Linked DNA regions of Homo sapiens: region 1 is linked to region 2. Evidence: promoter capture Hi-C in human tissues and cell types (Jung and others, 2019). All regions are on one chromosome and are shown on one strand. The core of a region is centred on a gene start or on the middle of the fragment in contact, and the rest is flanking DNA. Distances in the headings are between cores, read along the strand shown.

Region 1 (4,901 bases), core at 1,583-4,082, 710 kb after region 2:
TGACAATACCAAGGGGTGGCAGGGATGCAGAGCAACTAAAACCCTCATACCTTCCTAGTGGAATGCAAAATAGTACAGACACTACTAGAGAAAACACTTCCATAGTTTCTTAAAAATGTGTAACATACAATGACCATCCAACCATGCAATCCCTCTCCTGGGTATTTCCTCTAGAGAAATAAAAACTGCTATTTACAAAATTCTATACACAGTTATAGTAGCATTATTTGTGATGACAAAAAATGACAACTAAAATATCCTTCAATGGGTGAATGAATAAACAAATTATGGTACATCCATACAACAGAATGCTACTCAGGAAAACAACAACAACAGGTATCAGAACACCCAACAACTTCGATGAATCTCAGAGGCTTTATGCTGATAGAAACCAGCATCTTAGTTCCTTCTGGCTGCAGTAACAAAATACCATAAACTGGGTAGGTTATAAAAAACAGAAATTTATTTCTCACAGTTCAGGAAGCTGGCAAGTTCAAGATCAGGAAGTCAACAGATGTTGGTGTCTGGTGGTTCACTGAAGGTACCTTCTCCCTGTGTCCTCACATGGCTAGGCTCTCTGCGGTCTCTTATAGGTGCACTAATCCCAATCATGAGGGCTCCACTTTCATGAACTAATCACCTCCCAAAGGCTCCACCTCCTAGTAGCATCACCTTGTGGATTAGAATTTCAACATATGAATTTGGAGGACACACAAAGATTCAGACCATAGCAGCCATCTTAAAAGTTTACATACTGTAAGATTCCATTTAAGAACTAGGGATAGGAAAGAATGTGACTTATAAAGGATTAGCACGAGAAAGTTTTTAGGGGTGATGAAACTGTTCTGTATTCTGATTGTGGAGGTGTTTACATAAATCTATTAAAATTTAGAAATTTGCAGAACATTATATTCCTCCCAAATCAATTTTACTCTATGATAAAAAAAACAAAACAAAACAAAAAAAAACCAACCTCAGCCGGGAACGGTGGCTCACACCTATAGTCACAACACTTTGGGAGGCCGAGGCAGATGGATCACCTGAGGTTAGGAGTTCGAGACCAGCCTGGCCAACATGGCAAACCCCGTTTCTATTAAACATACAAAAATTAGCCAGGCGTGGTGGCAGATGCCTGTAATCCCAGCTACTCAGGAGGCTGAGACACGAGAATCACTTGAACCAGGGAGATAAAGGTTGCAATGAGCCAAGATCACGCCACTGCATTCCAGCCTGGGCAACAGAGCGAGACACCATCTCAAAAAAACAAAAAACAAAACAAAACAAAACACTTGAGAGGCAATTTCTAGGTTGGATTAGAGAGAAGTACAGAACAGGAGACACGGATACTGACCAAGACACAACTACAGTCAAGGACTAGAGGTAACACAGTGGGTAGCTAGGTGTGGTGGCGCTTGCCTGTAATCCCAGCTACTCGGGAGGCTCAGGCATGAGAATCACTTGGACCCGCAAGGCAGAGACTGCAGTAAGCCAAGATCCCACACCAGGGCACTCCAGCCTGGGCAACAGAGTGAAACTCCGTCTCAAAAATAAATAAATAAATAAATAAATAATCTTGCCATTATCATCCCGTGTCCCTTTTCTTCCCTTTCAAGAGAAATGGGCAAAAGGAAATACTTATTTTTTCGCATAGATCAATTATGTTTTTTAAATTTTGTACTGTTAAGTATGATAGTACTACTCAATGTTACTAAAATGAACATAAGTTTGGGGAGTCTGCCTAGCACGTGCAAATACCTCCTGTGTATCAGGAAACTGTCCTCTCAATCCACAAATATAAGCTGGCAGCAGCTATATTTGTATGAGGTGAACAGTCCCCCAATTCAGGGTCACAGCTGATTGCCTCCAAATGTGTTAGAGTCTTTTGCTTGGAGTTTTGGAAATGGGACTAAGTCACGGCTGTTCTCTTGAATGATGGAGCTGTGTGACATGATCATCTTCCATCCAGTGGTCTGAGAATCAGGACAGTCTACAGAGTAAAATAGACATATCCCAAGAAGCAGAGAAAAGTAGAAGGTCCTATACGTCCTGAGTGATTTCAATCTCCCAGTTCCAATCCCTGGCTAAGGTTTACATGCACGCCCATCCTCAGATTCTGAGTCATACACCCTGGTCCCCTAACTACTTTTGTCGTTTTTTCTTAAGCTGGTTCCAGTAGAGCCTATTATCTATGCCAAAAGACTTGTACAGATGCTCTTTAAGAGCTAGAAAAACATAAAGGAGTGCTCTGTGGATTACTTGGCATACAATAAAAGCTCACTATGTATTAGACAGAAACAATAGCTCTGAGTCTAAGAAGACTGATTTGGTGTGGACCATGAAATCACAGAGATCAGTCCTATCTGCACTCCAACCCCAGCTCTGCCACGTACTGGAAATGTAACTTTAGGCAAACTATGTAATATTTCTGAAACTCCCTTTCCTATCTCCCTCTCCAACCTCTCTGCTCCTATCATTCTCCACCTTTTCACCCAACTAAGCCTCATAGGACCTGTGCACCCATGACCTTCACTCTCTGGTGCTACACCTGTGATTATGTCACCTTACACTGCAAAAAGGACTTTGCAGATATAATTAAGTTGACTAATCATTAAAATAAGGAGACTATGCTAGATATCTAGATGGGCCCAATGAAAGCACATGAACTCTAAAATGCAGAAGAGAACAAGGACCCAGAATGGCCAAAACAATCTTGAAAAAGAATGTAAGAAAATTGACATTTCCTGATTTCAAAACTTACTACAAAGCCATGGTAATTACTACAGTGTGGTACTGGCACAAGGACAGTCATAGAAATCAACGGAATAAATTGAGATTCTAGAAATAAACCCACAATTCTTCTGTCAACTGATTTTCCACAAAAGTACCAAGACCATTCAATGGCGAAAAAAGAGTCTTTTCAGCCGGGCGCAGTGGCTCGCGCCTGTAATCTCAGCACTTTGGGAGACCGAGGCGGGCAGATCATGAGGTCAGGAGATCAACACCATCCTGGCAAACATGGTGAAACCCCATCTCTACTAAAAATACAAAAAAATTAGCCGGGCGTGGTGGTGGGCGCCTGTAGTCCCAGCTACTCGGGAGGCGACCACCTCAGACTCCCAAAGTGCTGGGATTACAGGCATGAGACACCACGCCCACCCCCAGGCTTTTGTTTTAAGGCTGAGTGTGTTAGGCCTCATGGGCAGCCTCTCTGACTTTCTCCTGCCCTCCTTTTACCTGCCCCAAGGCAGGACTCTACTCTGGATTGGTCTTAAACCCTCCCCAGCGAGGGTCCAGCTCTATACTCTGAGGGACGAATGCTGATGTCAGGAAGCCTCCATAAAAACCCAAGAGAACTGGGCCCGGGAAGCTTTCAGATAGCTGCACAGTGGAGGTTCCTGGAGGGTGTACGCCCAGGGAGGGCATGGAAGTTCTGCACCTTCCCCCATTCCTCGCCCCCAGCATCTCCTTCACCTGGATCCTTTGCAATATCTGTTGTAATAAACCGGTAAACATAAGCATCTCCCTCAGTTCTGTAAACCACCTCAGCAAATTATTGAACCTAAAAAGGCAGCCATGGGAACCCCAACTTGAAGCTGGTCAGTTAGAAGTCCTAAAGGCCCGGAGTTGCAACTGATGGGGGTTAGGAGGGGCAGTCATGGTGACTGAGTCCTCACCCTGTGCGATCTGACCCTATCTCCTGGTAAATAGTGCAGGAACTGAACTAAAAGACACCCAGTGCAGAAAGTGAACTAGAAGACACCCAGCTGGTGTGTTGTGTAGGGGAAGAATCCCCACACATATGGTCATGGAAGTCTTCTGTGTTGATGACTGCTGTGGCATGAGCAGAGGAAAAATACAGTTTGAGGAGTTTTTTCCCTGCACAAATGGGCATATCATAGGTTCTCAAATCTTTGTTGCAAGAACAATAACTGAATGAATAAGGTTATTGTAAAGACTATAGAATAACATGGCTAAAAAGCAATGATACTTAACTGCTTAATAAATACAAAAATCCCTTCCCCGGGGCCAGGTGCAATGGTTCACGCCTATAATCCCAGCACTTTGGGAGGCGAAGGTGGGAGGATGGCTTGAAACCAAGCGTTCAAGACCAGCCTGGGCAACATAGCAAGACCCTGTCTCTATTATTTAAAAATGTTCAAAAATCTCTTCCCCTCATGAGTGATTAGCCATTTCTTCCCCTCATGAGTGATTAGCCATTACGTTAAAATTATACATGCTGGATGGGCACGGTGACTCACGCCTCTAATCCCAGAACTTTGGGAGGCCAAGGTGGGCAGATCACAAGGTCAGGAGTTTGAGACCAGCCTGGCCAACACAGTGAAACTCCGTCTCTATTAAAAATACAAAAATTAGCCGGGCATGGTGGTATGCGCCTGTAGTCCCAATTACTCAGGAGGCTGAGGCAGGAGAATCACTTGAAACCAGAAGGCAGAGGTTGTGGTGAGCTTAGGTGGTGCCACTGCACTCCAGCCTGGGCAACAGAGCAAGACACTATCTCAAAAAAAAAAAAAAAAAATTATACACGCTATCCAACTTTACAAGGGAAAATAAACATCATCTATGGGATGGTTAAATAAACTGGGGCATGATCACACGAGAGAATACCTAACACCAAAAAGAACAAACTATTAACACATGTAAAGACCTGGATGCTCAAGAGCAAAATGTTGAGTTTTTTAAAAAGTGCATCTTAAAAGGTCACATACTCTAGGATTTCTACAACCTTTCCAAATGACAAAACTACAGATATGGAGGACAAATTAGTGCTTTTTCCAGGTTAAGAGTGGCGAAGGCAAGGGAGAGGAGGGGAAGGAAAATGGTGTAAGCAGTTAACCCAGCAGGCCTGAGTTGCTCAAATGATGCACATTCTCAGACAGGCC
Region 2 (4,632 bases), core at 1,650-4,149:
ATCCCAAGGCCAAAGCGGGTGGATCACCTGAGGTCAGGAGTTCGAGACCAGCCTGACCAATATGGTGAAACCCCATCTCTACTAAGTACAGAAAAAAAAAAAAAAAAAAGCCAGGCGTGGTGGTGCATGCCTGTAATCCCAGCTACTTGGGAGGCTGAGGCAGGAGAATCACTTGAACATGGGAGGTGGAGGTTGCAGTGAGTCGAGATTGCATCATTGCCCTCCAGCCTGGGCAACAAGAGCAAAACTCTGTCTCAAATTTAAAAATAAAAATAAAAATAAGTGAGGGCTTATGAGGCATCAAAGGTCATTTATAGAATGTTGTTAGCAATTTAATTCATGATAGCTAAAAATGGGCCAGATGTCCATCCGTAGTAGAATGGACACGTAAAATTGTGGATATCTAATATAATGGACTATTATACAGTAATGAAAAATAACAATCACTATTCACAATAGCATGGGTAAACCTCCCAGACCTATTGATGAAAGAAGCCAGATGATCAAGAGATCTCATCAACTGAGTAAAGGAATCTATAAGAAGGGAAGTTGCAGGAGTCTACTTAGATTTATTAAAATCATTAGGGATGTAGAGTGAGGTTTTTGTTTTTTGTTTTTGTTTCTTAATCAGTGTGTCATTCTGTCATCCAGGCTGGAGTGCAGTGGGGCAACGTTGGCTCATTGCAGCCTCAATCCACACCCCTGCCCCAAGCCCTCTGGGCTCAGTCAGTCCTCCCAAGTAGCTGGAACAACAGGCATGCACCACACCTTGCTAATTTTGTATATATTTTTGCAGAGACCAGGGCTCCCTATGTTGCTCAGGCTGGTCTTGAACTGCTGGCCTCAAGCAATCCTCCTGCCTCAGCCTCTCAAAGTGTTGTGAGCCACCCCACCTGGGCAGAGCAAGGATGTTTTTGAGGACTGTGGTAGATAGCTTCCTCATATTCATGTCCTGTGTAATCCTCTCCCTCTGAGCATGGGCTGGACCTAGGGACTATTTTCTTTTTCTTTCTTTCTTTCTTTTTTTTCTTCTTTTTTTGAGATGGAGTTTTTCCTTGTAAGCCAGGCTGGAGTGCAATGGTGTGAGCTTGGCTCACTGCAACCTCCACCTCCCAGGTTCAAGTGATTCTCATGCCTCAGCTTCCCAAGTAGCTGGGTTTACAGGCATGTGCCACCGCATCCGGCTAATTTTTGTATTTTTAGTAGAGACGGGGTTTCACCATGTTGGTCAGCTGGTCTCGAACTCCTGACCTCAGGTGCTCTACCCACCTCGGCCTCCCAAAATTCTGGGATTACAGGTGTGAGCCACCATGACTGGCTGGACCTAGAGACTATTTTCTAAGTAGCAATAGACTTCGTAAAAGTGATGGGATGTCACTTCTGGGATTAGGTTTCAAAAAAGGACTGTGATCTCACTCTCATTTTCTTTTTCTGTCTCTTCCTCTTTCTCCTCCCTCTCCCTGGGGTAAGCCTGCCGCTTCTTACCAAGAGGTGCAAGTGGACAGGAAATGATGTCTCCAGCCAACAGCCAGAGAGGACCTCAGGCCTGCCAGCAGCAGTGGAAGTGAGTTTGAAAGAGGATTCTGAAGCCTTGAGAGAGCTGCAGCCCTGGCTGACAGCTTGATTGTATCCTCATGAGAGCCTGAGCCAGAGGACACAGCTAACCTCACCCAGATTCCTAGCCCGTGGAAACTGTGAGGGAAAAAAAAGTTTATTGTTTATTAACTGCTAAATTTGGGGTGATTTTTACCCAACAATAGATAACGAATACAAGGATATTGCTTATTATTCAAAATCACTATATAAAGCCCCTGAAAAATTGAAAGCTGCAACCAGGGAAACACTGAAAATCTCCAAGAACCCTGTGTTTCTTCTTAAAGACAGTGAGAAAAAGCACATACATCTGTTTTCCTTTTAGTTTTGGCCACCAGGAAGCTCAGAGCCAAATTTATGATGCAATTTTAATAACTATGTAAGCCCCTATGGCCTGCTTATCTGTGTTCTTATTCCTGGCCTTTCATTTTATTCTGACTTTTCTTTTTCTTCGTCCTGATTGTATTAGCTCATCTTTATTTTTCTATATTATATGAGTTATGGTAAGCAACTTCAAATTCAGCTTACGGAAAAGCAAGGCATTCGTAAATCTCTCTTTTTTTTTTTGAGACTCTTACTCTATCGCCCAGGCTGGAGTGCAGTGGCACGATCTTGGCTCACTGCAACCTCCACCTCCCGGGTTCCGGCAATTCTCATGCCTCAGTCTCCCGAGTAGCTGGGATTACAGGCGCCCACCACGACACCGGGCTAATTTGTTTTTGTTTGTTTTTTGTATTTTTAGTAGAGACGCGGTTACGCCATGTAGGCCAGGCTGGTCTCGAACTCCTGACCTCAAGTGATCCACCTGCCTCGGCCTCCCAAAGTGTTGGGATTACGGGTGTAAGCCACTGTACCCGGTCCATAAATCATTTTTTAAAAATAGTTTTTAAATTTAAAACATAGTTTTGCACATTAAAAAAAAAGTTTTGCACAGGTCTAACCGAAGGTGGTGGTGGGAAGATCAGGTCATAGGTGTGGGTCTCTGGAGCTCCAAGCATTGGCCAGGGTTGATTTGGATTGGGTCAGAAATATACAACGAAAAAGGGAAAAAGGATGGCAATTGATTGCCATCCCCAGAGGGAGGGGCCGAGGGTTCGCCCAGTCACCCACAGTGGCATCCTTGCAATGTGCTAGTTAGACCGCTCCTTTAAGTCCCTCCCGCACTGGCCCGCTCGGCCCCGCCCCTCTCTGGCTCCGCCCCTCCCCACCCCTGCCCCGCCCATCCCCACCCCTGCCCCACCCCTTTCTCCCCCGGGCTCCACCCCTCGCGCGCGACCGGCCGCGCGGCGCAGCGCCACGCCGCCTCAGTCTCCGCCCGCCGATCCGGCCTCTTCGGCCGTTGCGCACTCCACCCCCTCCCTCCGCGCCCGCGCGCGCCTTCCCCGCCCCGTCCGCCTCACTCCTTTTGGGGCGGTTGGGCCGCGCGCCTGTGGGGGCGGGGCCCGGAGCAGGCCACCGAGCCAATGGGGCGCGGCGGCGGCGGCGGCGGTGGTGGCGGCGGCGGCGGAGGCGGCGGTGGCGGCGGTGGCGGCTGGGTCGGGCCCCGACGGGCGGCGGCGGCTGAGGTGGAGGCGGAGGGAGGCGGCGGCGGCGGCGGCGGGAAGATGGCGGCTCCCGTCCTGCTAAGAGTGTCGGTGCCGCGGTGGGAGCGGGTGGCCCGGTATGCAGTGTGCGCTGCCGGAATCCTGCTCTCCATCTACGCCTACCACGTGGAGCGGGAGAAGGAGCGGGACCCCGAGCACCGGGCCCTCTGCGACCTGGGGCCCTGGGTGAAGTGCTCCGCCGCCCTTGCCTCCAGGTAGCCGGCTTGGGGGAGTGGGCCAGGAGCGGCCGAGCGGGGCGAGGGTGGAGTCTCGGGGTGGGGAGCGCGCGGCGGGAGCTCAGGCCTGGGGGCGGCGGGGACCGGGCCGCTGGGGAACTGACGGGGTCGGGTCGGGGCCAGGCGGGGGGCGGCGGCGGGGCGCTCCTGCCCGGGGGGCGGCCTGAGCCCAGGCCGCGGGGCGGAGGTGGCGGGGCCGCGAGGCAGCCGGGGAGGGATGAGGTGGCAGAGTGCAGCCGGGAGGCCGGGGCGGACGCGGAGCGGTCGGGCGGGCTGGGGCCCGGCTGTGCAGGAGCGCGAGGGGGCTGCGGAGGGTGGGTCCAGGCTGGCTTGACAGGTTTCCTGGTTCTCGGGAGGCGGGCCGGGGGTGTGGGACCTTGTCCACCGCACCCTTGAGACCAGCGGCAACCTCTTGTCCCCCCGATCGCTGCAGCCGAGGCTTTGGGGCCGGCGCGGAGACAGGGGGGTTGCCTTTCCCACTGTCTTCCTGGTGCTAGGACAGGTGTTTCCGTGGTCAGGCCTCTTTGTACTCCAGCGCTAGTGAGAATTTGCAGACTTAACTGGGACGGTGACATTTGCTGGCAAACACGAATTTGACCCTACTGTGGAAGAAGATACCCGCACTTAACATATCTGATTTCTTGGATTCCCTCTCGTATGTTTCAGTGTGCCAGGAGAAGGAAATGGTCTGAGTTTGGGTCTAGTTTAAGCTTCATTGGAGTAAAGGACAAGTATGTTATGTATATGGTGGTGTTTTAGGCATTGGAATGACTTTTAAACGTTGTTGCCTATTAGCATATTCGAGACCAGCATATTGGTCAGGCTGGTCTCGAACTCCTGACCTCAGGTAATCCACCCACCTCTGCCTTCCAAAGTGCTGGGAATCAAGCATGAGCCACCGCGCCTGGCCTGCTTAAGTGCTTAAAATTGACTTTTCTTGGCCGGGCACAGTGGCTCACGCCTGTAATCCCAGCACTTTGGGAGGCCGAGGCGGGTGGATCATGAGGTCAGGAGTTCAAGACCAGCCTGGCCAACATGGTGAAACCCCGTCTCTACCAAAAATACAAAAATTAGCTGGGTGTGGTGGCATGTGCCTATAGTCCCAGCTACTCGGGAGGCTGAGGCAGGAGAATTGCTTGAACCTGGGAGGCAGAGGTTGCAGTGAGCCAAGACCACACCATTGCACCCCAGCCTGGGCAACAGAATGAGACTCCATCTCA

The links. Contacts are between HindIII fragments. The study calls those that stand out against the background at their distance.
Region 1: a contact is called between a fragment that was not itself captured here and the fragment with the promoter of VKORC1L1 in region 2, in 1 of the 25 tissues and cell types used here (heart left ventricle).

What each region holds. Positions count from the first base shown.
Region 1 is chr7:66,578,056-66,582,956 of GRCh38, forward strand. It overlaps the pseudogene RABGEF1P1. Among named protein-coding and RNA genes, the nearest start is that of KCTD7, 48 kb to the right of the region's middle. The HindIII fragment of the contact is 3,079 bases long and covers 1,294-4,372 here.
Region 2 is chr7:65,870,175-65,874,806 of GRCh38, forward strand. It overlaps VKORC1L1 (vitamin K epoxide reductase complex subunit 1L1), which reads left to right and starts at 2,900. Exons shown (of 3, transcript NM_173517.6): 1 at 2,900-3,391. The coding sequence starts at 3,198. RefSeq lists silencers at 2,592-2,651, 2,672-3,171, 2,885-3,064, 3,612-3,681 and enhancers at 2,747-3,298, 3,850-4,401. The HindIII fragment of the contact is 24,487 bases long and covers 1-4,632 here.